Regions from separate parts of the Homo sapiens genome. Here region 1 is linked to region 2. The links are contacts of gene promoters, found by promoter capture Hi-C in human tissues and cell types (Jung and others, 2019). All regions are on one chromosome and are shown on one strand. Each heading gives the region's core, a stretch centred on a gene start or on the middle of the fragment in contact. The rest is flanking DNA. Distances are from core to core; before and after follow the strand shown. Region 1 has its middle 7.5 kb from the start of S100A12. Region 2 holds the start of S100A7A (S100 calcium binding protein A7A).

Region 1 (7,667 bases), core at 2,864-5,363, 34 kb after region 2:
CTTTTTCTGAGCCTACCAGAAGAGGAAGGTGGCCCACGGTGCCCTTTGGAGTTTCACCATAAGTGATGGGTACTGGTTGTGAAGAATTGGGTCGACAGTTGATTCTTGAGTGCACAGTTGGGCAGGGGAGGTGGCCCAGCTGTCACTGGCCATCTGGAGAAGAGAAGTGAGAGAGGCAGGCCTTGGAAGCTTCCCAGAGGACGCAGGCTTGGAGATGATGATTTACAAACAAGACCGTGCCCATTACCGAAACCACACTGACTGGGCAGAATCAGACAGGACTTGTGGCCCAGAGCAAGATGACTTTGTTTCCTGTTTCCCCAGCTGCAAAAGAAGAACAAGGGAGTGGGAAGTTTAGAAATAAGTAGTTTAGCAGGAAATCGCATGCAACATTTGAGCCCACAAAGGAGTGCTTGGCTCACCAATTGAAGCAGATCTGGCAACTATGATTTCTGGGTCCTATAAGGATGACCTGTTTGAAGTCTTGCTTTTCCTTCCAAGTTCTTCGCCCAAGTGTCCTGACTTCAGGTGTGTTCCTGGTGGTTGTGACAAAAGTCTTAAAGGGCATGGAGAGAATCTGGACTTGGGCAGTCGGTCTACAGTGGCTGAGCAAAAGGCCTTATTCCAATGGAAAAGATTTTCCTGTTTATCCCTCCACTTGGGAACCAGAACAATTTTGATTGGGTCCAGAACCCAGCCCATTTTCTGCCCTCCTGCCTGGGGGAATTCAGTCTAAATTGAAATGGGCTGAAGAGGGGAGGGAAAGCTACCAACACTTACTGGGCTCCAGCTATGTGTCAGTGTGAAAGAAAAAAAATCATCTCAAACCTGGAAAAAGGCAAACTGATGATTGCTTATATTTTTGATCTCATGCTAGAGTCTGTCTGAAAAAAAGAAGGTCCTTGCTACTAGACCTCATCTGACACTTTTGAGAAAAGTGATCGGCAAAGCATGTTTGATAGCAATTCATAACAGATGATGTAGACAGTTTACCTCTGATGGATAGGGCAATATGGCTTTATAGGCTGGTCAAGACATTAAACCCAAAACTGTTATGGTTTGTTTTTGTCACCCTATGAAAAGTCAAAAGACTTGTATCTAGTCTTGTGTCTAAATTAAGAATCTTAGACATTACTTTCTAACTGTCTTTCATATTCTTAATATCTTTCAAACCAGTTCAAAAAAGTCTTCCTCACTGGTTCTCTCATTAATGAATTGAAACAAAAATTTTGACACAGGCCAATTATTTTGTTAATGATTTCGCTTTTTAGCTCAAGACATTGTGGTAACTTATCTCATTTCTCATAACAACCCTATGAGAGAGGTAACTACTATTTCCATTTTGTACATGAGTAGACTCAGAAACTTGACAAAGCTTATGAATCTGGCAAGTGGCAGAGGTAGAATCAGATCTCTACTGTCTCCAAGAAAGAGACCCTAATTAAAACATGAAGGTGCTCTCTTGTAGCCGTTTTCCACCCTGGGTGTGGATGGGACAGCCATTCCTCGCCTGCCTGCCTGGCCTCTTTCTCCTCATCCCCTATAGGGTCTCTGCTGTCCAGAGTGAGGAGTAGGGAGAGGAGGTACCAGATGAGCTTCTTTCTTGGGCCACTTTTCCTTGCCCAGGACTTTACCTGGCACACCTCAGGGCCTGAAGGACTGGTAGTTTTTTCCTGGTGTGAGCAATCCTCTAGGCAAAGATAATCTCCCTATGTATAGAGCAAGAGGATTGGGCATTTTGATTGCCCTAAACTCTTAGGGGTTGCCCCAGTAACAATTCTGTCTTCTTCCCTGGGCGGAGGAGCTTTCCTTCCAGTCTTAGATTTGGAAATTCCCCTGTGATCTAAAACACTGCTGAATCAGCCACCCATGTACTCAGGGCATCTCCATGCTGGAATAGTCAATCTGTGGCCTGTTGCCAATTTGAATGGGGCCCCAACAGCCATCGGTGGTTCTGATTGGAGAGTGATGGCCTCAATGCAGGTTACCTAGAACATAGACATAAAATCAGACAGATTTTAAACATGGTCAATGGTATGGGAAAGCAGGCTCATCATGCAGTTTACCTTGCCATGTAACTCATGGCTAAATCTGACACAGGCTTTGTACACTTCAACTAGAGACTTTTATAGTGACAGTTCCCTGACCGGAGTTACACGTGCTCCCCTGGCTAGTATATTCCTTTGTGGGATATACTGCAGAATACCTGTCACCCTTAGATAGAGCATGCTGTTTTGGAATTTGGGGTCCTCAAGTGTTTGTGCAAAATGACACCGTAAGCTGGAAGGGCTTCTGACATTGCAAGGTTGCCTGACATACTCTGCCAGGAAGGCATTCTGATAGCTGATTCCATTTTGCTGTCTGTGTCCTCCTACTTGGCATAGGTGTACATGCCCTGGGAAAAATGGTACCCAACTTGTCATTGACTACGTCAGTGACAACTAATGCTACCACCTGGACTATTTAGGACCAGTGAGACTCACTGAATGCATTAACTAAGCTGGTGATGAACACCTGAACAGCCTCTGATCATCTGCTGGCAGAGCAGAGTGGCCTTTGGTTGTTGCCAACACCTCCTGCTGTACCTGAGTAAACACCTCAGGGATTGTACAGACACAGGGGAAGGGATCCACAGGCAGACCCAGCCCGTTGGTTTCAAACAGTGAGGCCATCTGAAGGATCCTTCTTTGGCCTTTTTGTAAAAAAAAAAAATTATTTTAGATTCAGGATATACATGTGCAGGTTTGTTACATGGGTATATTGCATGATGCTGAGGCTTGGGCTGCGAATGATCTCATTGCCCAAATAGTGAACATAGTACCTGTTAGGTAACTTTTCAACCCTGGTGCCCCTCCTGCCCTCCCTCCTTTTGGAATCCCCAGTGTCTACCACTCCCATCTTTTTGTCTGTGTGTACTCAGTGTTTAGCTCTCACATATAAGTGAGAAATTCTGGTATTTGGTTTTCTGTTTCTACATTAATTCACTTAGCGTAATGGCCTCCAGGTGCATCCATGTTGCTGCAAAGGACATGATAGTGTTCTTTTTTATGCTTCATAGTATTGACATATATGACATATATGTACTACATTTTCTTTATCCAACCCACCATTGATAGGTACCTGGGTAGATTCCATGTCTTTGCTAATGTGAATAGTGCTTTGATAAACATACTAGTGCAGGTGTCTTTTCCTTTGGGTATATACTCAGTAACGGGATTGATGGGTTGAATGGCAATTCTATTTTTAGTTCTTTGAGAAATCTCCAAAATGCTGAACTAATTTGCATTCTACCAACAGTATATAATCATTCCTTTTTCTCTCCAACCTTGCCAACAACTGTTATTTTTTTGACTTTTAAATAATAGTCATCCTGACTGATGTGAGATGATATTTCTTGTGGTTTTGATTCACATCTCTCTGATGATTAGTTTTTGCATGTTTGTTGGCTACTTGTGTTTCTTTTTGAGAAATGTCTGTTCATGTTCTATGCCCACTTTTTAATGGGGTTATTTGTTTTCTTCTTGTTAAGTTGTTTGAGTTCCTTATAGATTCTGGGTATTAGCCCTTTGTCAGATGCATAGTTTGTGAATATTGCCTCCCATTCTGTAGATTGTCTGTTTACTCTGTTATTAGTTTCTTTCACTGCGTGGAAGCTTTTTAGTTTAATTAGGTCCCATATCAGTTTTCGTTTTTGTTGCATTGCGTTTGAGGACTTAACCATAAATTCTTTGCCTAGAACATGTCTAGAAGAGTATTTCCTAGGTTTTCTTCCAGGATTTTAATAGTTTAAGGTCTTAACATTTAAGTCTTTAATCCATCTTGAGTTAATTTTTGTATGTGGTGAGAGGTAAGGGTCCAGTTTCATTCTTCTGCATATGGTTAGCCAGTTTCCCCAGCACCATTTATTGAATAAGATTTCCTTTCCCCATTGTTTATTTTTGCCAGCCTTGTTCAAGGTCAGTTGGTTGTAGGTATGTGGTTTTATTTCAGTGGTCTCCATGCTGTTCCATTGGTCTATGTGTCTATTTTTGTACCAATACCATGCTGTTTTGGTTACTGTAGACTTGTAGTGTAGTTTGAAATTGGGTAATGTGGTACCTCTGGTTATATTCTTTTTTGCTTAAGATTGCTTTGGCTATTTGTGCTCTTTTTGCTTCTATATGAATTTTAGACGAGTTTTGTAAAGTTGTGTGAAAAATGACCTTGGTAATTTGATAGGAATAGCATTGAATCTATAGATTGCTTTGGGCAATGTGGACTTATTAACTATATCAATTCTTCCAATCCATGAGCATGGCATGCTTTTTCATTTGTTTGTGTCATCTATGATTTCTTGTAGCAGTGTTTTGTAGTTCTTTTTGTAGAGGTCTTTCACTTTGCTGGTTAGATATTTTCTTAGGTATTTTATTTTTTGTGTGTGGCTGTTGTAAATGGAATTGCATCTTTGATTTGGTTCTCAGCTTGAATATTATTGGTGTATAGAAATGCTACTGATTTTTCTATGTTGATTTTGTTTTCTGAGATTTGCTGAAGTTGTTTATCAGGTCTAGGAGTCTTTTGGAAGAATCTTTAGAGTTTTCTGGACATAGAATCATATTGTCAGTGAAAAGAAGTAATTCGCTCTTTTTCAATTTGGGTTCCTTTTATCTCTTTCTCATGTCTAATTGCTCTGGCTAGGACTTTCAGTACTATGTTGAATAGGAATAGTGAGAGTAGACATCCTTGTCTTGTTCCAGTTCTTAGGCAGAATGCACCTAACTTATGCTTATTCAGTATGATGTCAACTGTGGGTTTGTCATAGATGGCTCTTATTATTTTGAGGTATGTTTCTTTGATGTCTATTTTATTGAGAGCTTTCATCATGAAGAAATGTTGAATTTTTATTGAATGCTTTTCTGCATTGATTGAGATGATCATATAGTTTTTGTTTTTAATTCTGTTTATGTGGTGAATCACATGTATTTATTTGCATATGTTGAACCATCCCTGCATTCCAGGAATAAAGCCCACTTATTTGGGAAATCAACTTTTTGATATGCTGCTGTATTTGGTTTTCTAGTATTTTGTTGAAGAGTTTTATGTCTATGCTCATCAGGGATATTGGTCTGTAGTTTTCTTTTTTTGTTGTGCCTTTGCCAAATTTTGGTGTCATGAGGATATTGGTTTCATAGAATGAGTTAGGGAGGAGTCCCTCCTTGATTTTTTGTAATAGTTTCTTTAGGATTGATACCAGGTCTTCTTTGTAGATCTAGTAGAATTTGACTATGAATCCGTCTGATACAGGGTTTTTTGTTGTTGCTATTGTTGGTAGGTGTTTTATTACTGATTTATTTTCATTACTTGTTATTGGTCTGTTCAGAAATTCTATTTCTTCTTGACTCAGTCTTGGGAGGTTGTGTTTCCAGGAATGTATTGATTTCCTCTAGATTTTCTAGTTTGTACTCATAGAGAGGTTCATATCTCTGAGGATCTCTTGTATTTCTGTGGAATCGGTTGTAATGTCACCTTTGTCATTTCTGATTGTGTTTATTTCGATCTTCTCTCGTTTTCTTTGTTAATCTAGCTAATGGTCTATCAATCTTGTTTATCCTTTCAAAAAAGCAAGTTTTCCTTTCACTGATCCTTTGTATGGCTTTTTGGGTCTCAATTCACTTAGTTCTGCTCTTATTTTAGTTACTTCTTTTCTTCTGCTAGCTTTGAGCTTAGTTGTTCTTGTTTTTCTAATTACTTTAGGTGGAGGTTGGGTTGTTAATTTGAGATCTTTCTATTAATATCTTCTTTATATATATATATTTTTTATTATACTTTAAGTTCTAGGGTACATGTGCACAATGTGCAGGTTTGTTACATATGTATACATGTGCCATGTTGGTGTGCTGCACCCATTAACTCGTCATTTACATTAGGTATATCTCCTAATGCTATCTCTCCCCCCTCCTCCCACCCCGCTTGATATAGGCATTTAGCGCTATAAAATTCCCTCTTGGGAGGATAGAGGAGCGAGGCTGGCGGGCACACCGGTGAGCGGGCCGGAAGCCGGAGCAGCCGAGGAGTCTGCAGCAGCCGCGTGGCGGAGTCTGGGCGAGGAGGTCAACGCTCCTGGAAACTTGGGCTCGTCCTCGCGCCTCTGCTCCAGGAGCAATGACGATGGTCACGCCCTGGTCGCACCCTGGATGCGGTTCTACTCCAACAGCTGCTGCCTGTGCCTCCATGTCCGCACCAGCACCATCCTGTTAGGTGTCTGGTACCTGATCATCAACGCCGTGGTACTCCTGATTTTGTTGAGTGCCCTGGCTGATCCGGATCAGTATCACTTTTCAAGTTCTGAACTGGGAGGTGATTTTGAGTTCATGGATGACGCCAATACGTGCATTGCCATTGCGATTTCTCTTCTCATGATACTGATATCATGAGAATTAAGGCTAATTACGTAATTAAGGCTAATTACGAAGCATACAGGCAACACGCATTCTGGATCATCCCATTCTTCTGTTACCAGATTTTTTTTTTTTTCCGAGACGGAGTCTCGCTCTGTCGCCCGGGCTGGAGTGCAGTGGTGCGATCTCAGTTCATTGCAAGCTCCACCTCCCGGGTTCACGCCATTCTCCTGCCTCAGCCTCTCCGAGTAACTGGGACTACAGGCGCCAGCCACCACGCCCGGCTAATTTTTTGTATTTTTAGTAGAGACGGGGTTTCACCGTGGTCTCCATCTCCTGACCTCCTGATCCACCCCCTTCGGCCTCCCAAAGTGCTGGGATTACAAGCGTGAGCCACCGCACCTGGCCCTGTTACCAGATCTTTGATTTTGCTCTGAACACCTTGGTTGCAATCACTGTGCTTGTTTATCCAAACTCCATTCAGGAATACATACGACAACTGCCTCCTAATTTTCCCTACAGAGATGATGTCATGTCAGTGAATCCACCTGTTTGGTCCTTATTATTCTTCTGTTTATTAGCATTATCTTAACTTTTAAGGGTTACTTGATTAGCTGTGTTTGGAACTGCTGCAGATAGATGAACGGCAGGAACTCCTCCGATGTCCTGGTTTATGTTACCAGCAATGACACTAAGGTGCTCCTACCCCGGTATGATGATACCACTGTGAATGGTGCTGCCAAGGAGCCGCCGCCACCCTAGGTGCTGCCAAGGAGCCGCCGCCACCCTAGGTGTCTGCCTAAGCCTTTGAGTGGGCGGAGCTGGGGGCAGCAGCTTGACTTTTCAGATATCTGAGCAATAGTCATGTTATTTCACTTTTCAGGTGAGCTCTCTGCGCTTGTTTGTTGCCGAAGTGCTACTTTTTAAGATTTAGATGTTAGGTTGAAACCTGTAGTTTTCCTCAACATATGCTTTGTTAGAACACTGTGATAGATTGGCTGTAGAATACTTTCTGTAGGATTGGGGGTGTAACAGGCTTCACTAACCCTCCCTAGGAATGTAAACTTCCCCCAAATCTAGATGGACCTAGAGTCAGAGAAGTCTGCTTTCATACCTGTGGGACCCCAAAGTTGGGCAGTTAGTCATACGTTTCTCTCTGTTCCCTCTCTTTTGAAAGTGTAAAATAAAACCAAAAATAGACAACTTTTCTTAAACCTTTCCAATGTAGAGAACAAAATCTTACGAAAACAGGAATGCCAATTCTGTAATCATTTTTCTAATTAGGTAAAT
Region 2 (7,489 bases), core at 99-2,598:
CCAGGGCCAAGAAGAGATGCAGGTGGATGGCAGAAGTCCAGCTGTGGACAGTGCTTCAGAGAAGGAGAAGCAGGGAGAGTCGGAGGCCAGCAACACATAGAAGAACTAAGCTGGGACCCCCCAGCCTCAACCAGCACATGGCGGACCCCACTCTTGAAACAGCACCAAATCCATCTCCTCCAGCTTCACAGTCGGGGTGAGAGTCACGGGGGCAGGACAATGGCCTTGGTGATCTGGTGTCTGACCCTCCTCGGCTGCTTCAGGAACCAGACACCGTGGGCCCCACCTTGACTCAAGTGCAAGCCCTGCATGACACAGTGCGTGCAGGCTCCAGGTGCACATGTGAGCGTGGACATGAGTGTGAGCAGGAAACACAGCCCTCTCCCGAGGACAGGGGGCCCTTCCTACATTCCCTTGGGAATGAGAAACAAGAATTGCCTCTGTTACAAGGAACAGAAATAACTCCCTGGTTCTTAAGCTGCTGGATGGGGTGGGAGTGAGGTGGGAGTCGCTTCATGTCTGCTCTTGGGAAATATCTGCACCCTCTGAATCACCAAGGGTTGACCCTGTTTAAATAAAAATGTCTGACTTTCCAAAGCAGATCTTCCAGCCAGTAGCCAGCCTGGGCTGCCCTGCACCCCAAGCCTGAAAAATAAGACAGTGCAGCTCTCATTTCTACACTTTCCAAAGAACCAGAAAAGGACCTTGGCTAACGCATGTGGGCATCTGACAATAAACCCCCAACACCTCTCAACGCAGGAGAAAGCTCCGTGCCAGCAACTGACTAAGAGAAGCCACTCAAAGCTTTCTGAATCTGAGGCCAAGGCCAAGGCCAGAGGCCAAGCCCTGTGCCCAGAGATTGACTGAGAATTTACAGGTCCAAGGCCTGGGGGTTTGGAGAGCCTCCAAAGCATTCACAGGGGATCCTTATCCCTCCTCCCTCTGTGGGGGCAGAGCTGGGGAGGGGATTCAGCAACTGGGATCCCAAAAGGAGAATGAATCCAGGGAGGAAGAAGACAGGAAGGAAAGGGAGGGTCCTGTGCTCAGGTCCCACTGGGGACATTTCCACAGGAGTTGTCTCAGGAGATCCCAAAGGAGCAATGGACAGGTCTGGTTCAGCCACCTGGTTGTACAGACGTGGGCTTTTGGGGTCAAGTGAAGGTCACACAGCCCAGCTAATGGCAGAGCTGGCCTAGACCCAGGCTTCTGAGACTTTGTCCACAGCCCTTTCCCTTCCTACAGGCAGCATGGCAGGCTGGGCACTGGGCACTTCTAGAAAATGCAAAGAGGCAGGTGAGACTTACCAGAACTGGGAAGTGTCACGAGTAGAAGGATGAGTGAGATGTGTGTGTTTGGACAAAGAGCAGTCCTTTATAAGGCTCAGCCTGGCTCTTCCCACGGGTTGGGAGGCCTGGGGCCACCTCTGTCATCTGTTTCTTGGAGGCTTGTCCCATATCAGGTGTGTGGGACACACCCAGGAGGCTGTGCTCAGGATTTCTGGCCAGGGTCCCAGGTCACCAGGTCCCACCCCACCCCAGAGACCTCACCTGGGGCCTTCTCTGGCTCAATCTTGATTTGAGGGTAAGGCAGCGGTACATGTGTAGTAACAGGTCAGGAAATGGGAGAAAAGAGCACTGGGCCTCTGGACCCAAAGAGAATGGAGTTTCAGACTCCCAAAGGCAGCATGGTCTTGTTTATTCCCTCCCCCAGTACTTCCACACATTTGTTGTGACAGCCTGTTCTATGACCCCCACCGCTTACTGAGCGTTTTAATGTCTAGACATCAAGACACCTGCTGCTCTTGCATCCTCCTCAACCCTCCCCTCATAGTCTTAAGAAGCAGGTGCTGCAATCTCTATTTTAGGAAAGGAGAAGTTGAGATGTTCCCAAGTTTACTCAGCTAGTAAACACAACAAATCATCACACGAACAAAGAAAAGCCTGAATCAAATCCTTACTCTTATCCCCTGTGCTATAGGTCTTGGGTTGCATCAGGGTCTGCCCTATGGGAACTCAAAGTCCAGGGAGGGAAGCAGGATTACTTCATTGCTAACCATTGGTCAGCCCCTCACAGAAGCCCTGGATTTAGGTGGGGGGACTGGGGTCAGGGGCCTCACTATCTAGGTTGAGTGGTGGAGTGACCCCCGCCCCCCCCGCCCCATGGAATGAGCCTGGAGGTAGGGAGTGGGAAAAGTTCTTTCCTGCCCCATGGCACTAACTTCCCAGAAAGTCTTCAGTGTTTTTCCTCCTCCTATGCAAAACAGCCTGTGTAGGAGTTGGGAGTTGTGCCCTTGGCTATAATGTGCCCTAACCTGCTGTGGAAAGCCTGAACCAGGTAGGGGCAAGAGGGTTGGGAAGGCACAGGAGTCCCTGGGGCATGGTGAGGAAAAGGAGATGATGAATCACTGAAATGGACTTTTTCTGCTACCCCCTTACAATGTTCCTTGTAGGCCGCAAGAGGTCCTGGTTCATTTAGTGCCAGCCCTTTAAGCACTCTGGGGCTCCATAGAGCTGATGTGATGTCTCCCTAGGTGGGACCTATTTTCTCCACCCATCATCTTTCTTCAACTTCCTTCTCTGTCAGTTCTTATGTAACCAGGGGGACCTGTTTCTCCCTCTCCCAGTTTCCCATATGACGGCAATATTACTTTTAGCGGCAAAAGATACACACACACACACACACGCACACACACACAAACACACACACAAACGCACACATACACACACACACAGACGAATACTACTCAACCATAAAAAGAATGAAATGATGACTTTTGCAGCAACATGGATGGAACTGGAGGCTATTATCTTAAGTGAAATTACTCAGAAAAAGAAAGTCAAACACTGTGCACCCTCATGTGTAAGTGGGAGGTACATCATGCATACAGATGGAGGTAGAGAGAGAGTAGAATCATAGACACTGGAGACAGTGAAGAGCAGGAGGTCAGGTGGTGGGTGAAGGAGGAGACATTTCTTAGTGGGTACAATGCGTGTTATTTAGGATGGCTGCATTAAAAGCCCGGACTTCACCACTGTGCAATGTGTTCATATACATGTGTATGCAGGTTTTTGTGTGGACATAAGCTTTCAGTTCTTTTGGGTAAATCCCGAAGAGTGTGATTTCTGGATCCTATGGTAAGAGTATGTTTAGTTTTTTAAGAAAGCACCAAACTGTCTTCCCAAGTGGCTGTACTATTTTGTGTTCCTGCCATCAATGAATGAGAGTTCCTGTTGCTCCACATCCTTCTTTAGCATTTGGTGCTGTCAGTGTTCCAGATTTTGGGCATTCTCATAAGTGTGTACTGGTATCTCATTGTTGTTTTAATTTGCATTTCCTTGAGGACATATGATGTGGAGCATCAGCTGATATGCTTATTTGTCACCTTCTGTATCTTCTTTGATGAGATGTCTGTTAAGGTCTTTGGCCCATTTTCTAATTGTTTGGTTTGTGTTCTTATCTCTGAGTTTTAAGAGTTCTTTGTACGTTTTGGATAACATACAAAGTCTGATATGTCTTTTGTAAATATTTTCTCCCAGTCTGTGGCTTATCTTTTCATTCTCTTGACAATATCTTTCACAAAGCAGAAATGTTAAATTTTAAAGAAGTCCAGCTTATGAATTATTTCTTTCATGGATTGTGCCTTGGTGTTGCATCTAAAAAGTCATCACCAAAACCAAGATGATCAAATTTCCTCTTATGCTACCATCTAGGAGTTTTGTAATATTATGTTTTGCATGTAGGTCTATGATTCATTTTGAGTTACATATCATCACTGTTTATAAAAAAAAGGAACAGAAGAAATGCAATACAAAAGGAATCAGGGACAACAATATTAATACAAGACAACAAAGAATTCTAAGAAAAGGGATTAAATGAAAAAGAAGAATATTTCCTATTGATTAGTGTGCAAGTCACCAAGATGCAATAGTCTTATCTTTTTTTTCTTTCTTGTTTTTTCTTTTTTATGAGACACACTTTTGCTCTTGCAGCCCAGGTTAGAGTGCAGTGGTGTCATCTTGGCTCGCTGCAATCTCCTCCTCCTAGGTTCAAGCGATTCTCCTGCCTCGGCCTTCTGAGTAGCTGGGATTATAGGCGCCTGCCACTATATCCAGCTAATTTTTGTATTTTTAATAGAAATGGGGTTTCATCATGTTGGCCGGGCTGGTCTCGAACTCCTGACCTCAAGCGATCCACTCATCTCGGCCTCCCAAAGTGCTGGGATTACAGTTGTGAGCCACTGCACCTGGCAATAGTCTTATCCTTATATACACAAGAACATAATATTGAATTATACAAAGCAAACATTGAAATAAATTAATGAAAACTGACAAATTTATATCACTTGGCAGTTTCTGGCAGAGTCTGCCCAGGAACTCAACAGAGTCGTCAGATAACAAAACACCAGTAATGGTGCAGAGCAGGGCGGGCAGATGCTGCCACAGCCCAGAAGCAGCCCTGGACATAAGGGCCCCGTGGATGAAGACAGCTGTTTCTAGTAAACACTAATCTCCAGAATTGGTTGGCCAGCTGGATTTGGCTTTAAGACCATAATTTGCTGATTCCTGATACAAAATATTTGAAGGACACACTTAAATTTATTTATATACACGTGCATTCATAAATTTGTGCCTGACCATAGAGAATACATATAAATTTCTTTTTTTGTATTGAGGTTCTTTATTAAATTAATTATATAATCTGTATTAGATAATTAACGTTTTTACAAAAATTATTATTATACTTTCAGTTCTAGGGTACATGTGCACAGCGTGCAGTCTTGTTACATATGTATACATGTGCCATGTTGGTGTGCTGCACCCATTAACTCGTCATTTACATTAGGTATATCTCCTAATGCTATCTCTCCCCGCTGCCCCAACCTCACGACAGGCCCTGATGTGTGATGTTCCCCTTCTTGTGTCCAGGTGTTCTCATTGTTCAATTCCCACCTATGAGTGAGAACATGTGATGTTTGGTTTTCTATCCTTGCGATAGTCTGCTGAGAATGATGGTTTCCAGCTTCATCCGTGTCCCTACAAAGGACATGAACTCATCCTTTTTTATGGCTGCATAGTATTCCATGGTGTATATGTGCCACATTTTCTTAATCCAGTCTATCATTGATGGACATTTGGGTTGGTTCCAAGTCTTTGCTATTGTGAATAGTGCTGCAATAAACATACGTGTGCATGTGTCTTTATAGCAGCATGATTTATAATCCCTTGGGTATATACCCAGTAATATGATGGCTGGGTCATATAATGGTATTTCTAGTTCTAGATCCTTGAGGAATCGCCACACTGTCTTCCACAATGGTTGAACTAGTTTACAGTCCCACCAACAGTGTAAAACTGTTCCTATTTCTCCACATCCTCCCCAGCATCTGTTGTTTCCTGACTTTTTAATGATCGCCATTCTAACTGGTGTGAGATGGTATCTCATTGTAGTTTTGATTTGCATTTCTCTGATGGCCAGTGATGAGCATTTTTTCATGTGTCTTTTGGCTGCATAAATGTCATCTTTTGAGAAGTGTCTGTTCATATCCTTTGCCCACTTTTTGATGGGGTTGTTTGTTTTTTTCTTGTAAATTTGTTTGAGTTCATTGTAGATTCTGGATATTAGCCCTTCGTCAGATGAGTAGGTTGCAAAAATTTTCTCCCATTCTGTAGGTTGCCTGTTCACTCTGATGGTAGTTTCTTTTGCTATGCAGAAGCTCTTTAGTTTAATTAGATCCCATTTGTCAATTTTGGCTTTTGTTGCCATTGCTTTTGGTGTTTTAGACATGAAGTCTTTGCCCATGCCTATGTCCTGAATGGTATTGCCTAGGTTTCCTTCTAGGGTTTCTATGGTTTTAGGTCTAACATTTAAGTCTTTAATCCATCTTGATTTAATTTTTGTGTAAGGTGTAAGGAAGGGATCCAGTTTCAGCTTTCTACATATGGGTTAGCCAGTTTTCCCAGCACCATTTATTAAATAGGGAATCCTTTCCCCATTTCTTGTTTTTGTCAGGTTTGTCAAAGATCAGATGGTTGTAGTTGTGTGGTATTATTTCTGAGGGCTCTGTTCTGTTACATTGCTCTATACCTCTGTTTTGGTACCAGTACCATGCTGTTTTGATTACTGTAGCCTTGTAGTATAGTTTGAAGTCAGGTAGTGTGATGCCTCCCACTTTGTTCTTTTGGCTTAGGATTGTCTTGGCAATGAGGGCTCTTTTTTGGTTCCATATGAATTTTAAAGTAGTTTTTTCCCAATTCTGTGAAGAAAGTCATTGGTAGCTTGATGGGGATGGCATTGAATCTACAAATTACCTTGGGCAGTATGGCCATTTTCACAATATTGATTCTTCCTATCCATGAGCATGGAATGTTCTTCCATTTGTTTGTGTCCTCTCTTATTTCGTTGAGCAGTGGTTTGTAGTTCTCCTTGAAGAGGTTGTTCGCATCCCTTGTAAGTTGGATTCCTAGGTATTTTATTCTCTTTGAAGCAATTGTGAATGGGAGTTCACTCATGATTTGGCTCTGTGTTTGTCTGTTATTGTTGTATAAGAATGCTTGTGATTTTTGTACATTGATTTTGTATCCTGAGACTTTGCTGAAGTTGCTTATCAGCTTAAGGAGATTTTGGGCTGAGGCGATGGGATTTTCTAGATATACAATCATGTCATCTGCAAACAGGGACAATTTGACTTCCTCTTTTCCTAATTGAATACCCTTTATTTCTTTCTCCTGCCTGATTGCCCTGGCCAGAACTTCCAACACTATGTTGAATAGGAGTAGTGAGAGAGGGCATCCCTGTCTTGCACCAGTTTTCAAAGGGAATGCTTCCAGTTTTTGCCCATTTAGTATGATACTGGCTGTGGGTTTGTCATAAATAGCTCTTATTATTTTGAGATGTGTCCCATCAATACCGAATTTATTGAGAGTTTTTAGCATGAAGGGCTGTTGAATTTTGTCAAAGGCCTTTTCTGCATCTATTGAGATAATCATGTGGATTTTATCTTTGGTTCTGTTTATATGACGGATTACATTTAATGATTTGCGTATGTTGAATCCTTGCATCCCAGGGATTAAGCCCACTTGATCACGGTGGATAAGCTTTTTGATGTGCTGCTGGATTTGGTTTGCCAGTATTTTATTGAGGATTTTCCCACTGATATTCATCAGGGATATTGGTCTAATATTCTCTTTTTTTTTGTTGTGTCTCTGCCAGGCTTTGGTATCAGGATGATGCTGGCCTCATAAAATGAGTTAGGGAGGATTCCCTCTTTTTCTATTGATTGGAATAGTTTCAGAAGGAATGGTACCATTTCCTCTTTGTAGCTCTGGTAGAATTCGGTTGTGAATTCATCTGGTCTTGGACTTTTTTTGGTTGGTAGGCTATTAATTATTGCCTCAATTTCAGAACCTGTTATTGGTCTATTCAGGAATTCAACTTTTTCTGGGTTTAGTCTTGGGAGGGTGTATGTGTCCAGGAATTTATGCATTTCTTC

Evidence for each region. Contacts are between HindIII fragments. The study calls those that stand out against the background at their distance.
Region 1: a fragment that was not itself captured here is called in contact with the fragment with the promoter of S100A7A in region 2 in 1 of the 25 tissues and cell types used here (thymus).

Annotation. Positions count from the first base shown.
Region 1 is chr1:153,379,289-153,386,955 of GRCh38, reverse strand. It overlaps the pseudogene LAPTM4BP1. Among named protein-coding and RNA genes, the nearest start is that of S100A12, 7.5 kb to the right of the region's middle. RefSeq lists a silencer at 6,402-6,572. The HindIII fragment of the contact is 6,662 bases long and covers 783-7,444 here.
Region 2 is chr1:153,410,379-153,417,867 of GRCh38, reverse strand. S100A7A (S100 calcium binding protein A7A) reads right to left here and starts at 1,348. Exons shown (of 3, transcript NM_176823.4): 1 at 1,305-1,348. It also overlaps a transcript of S100A8 not described here. The HindIII fragment of the contact is 7,303 bases long and covers 1-5,089 here.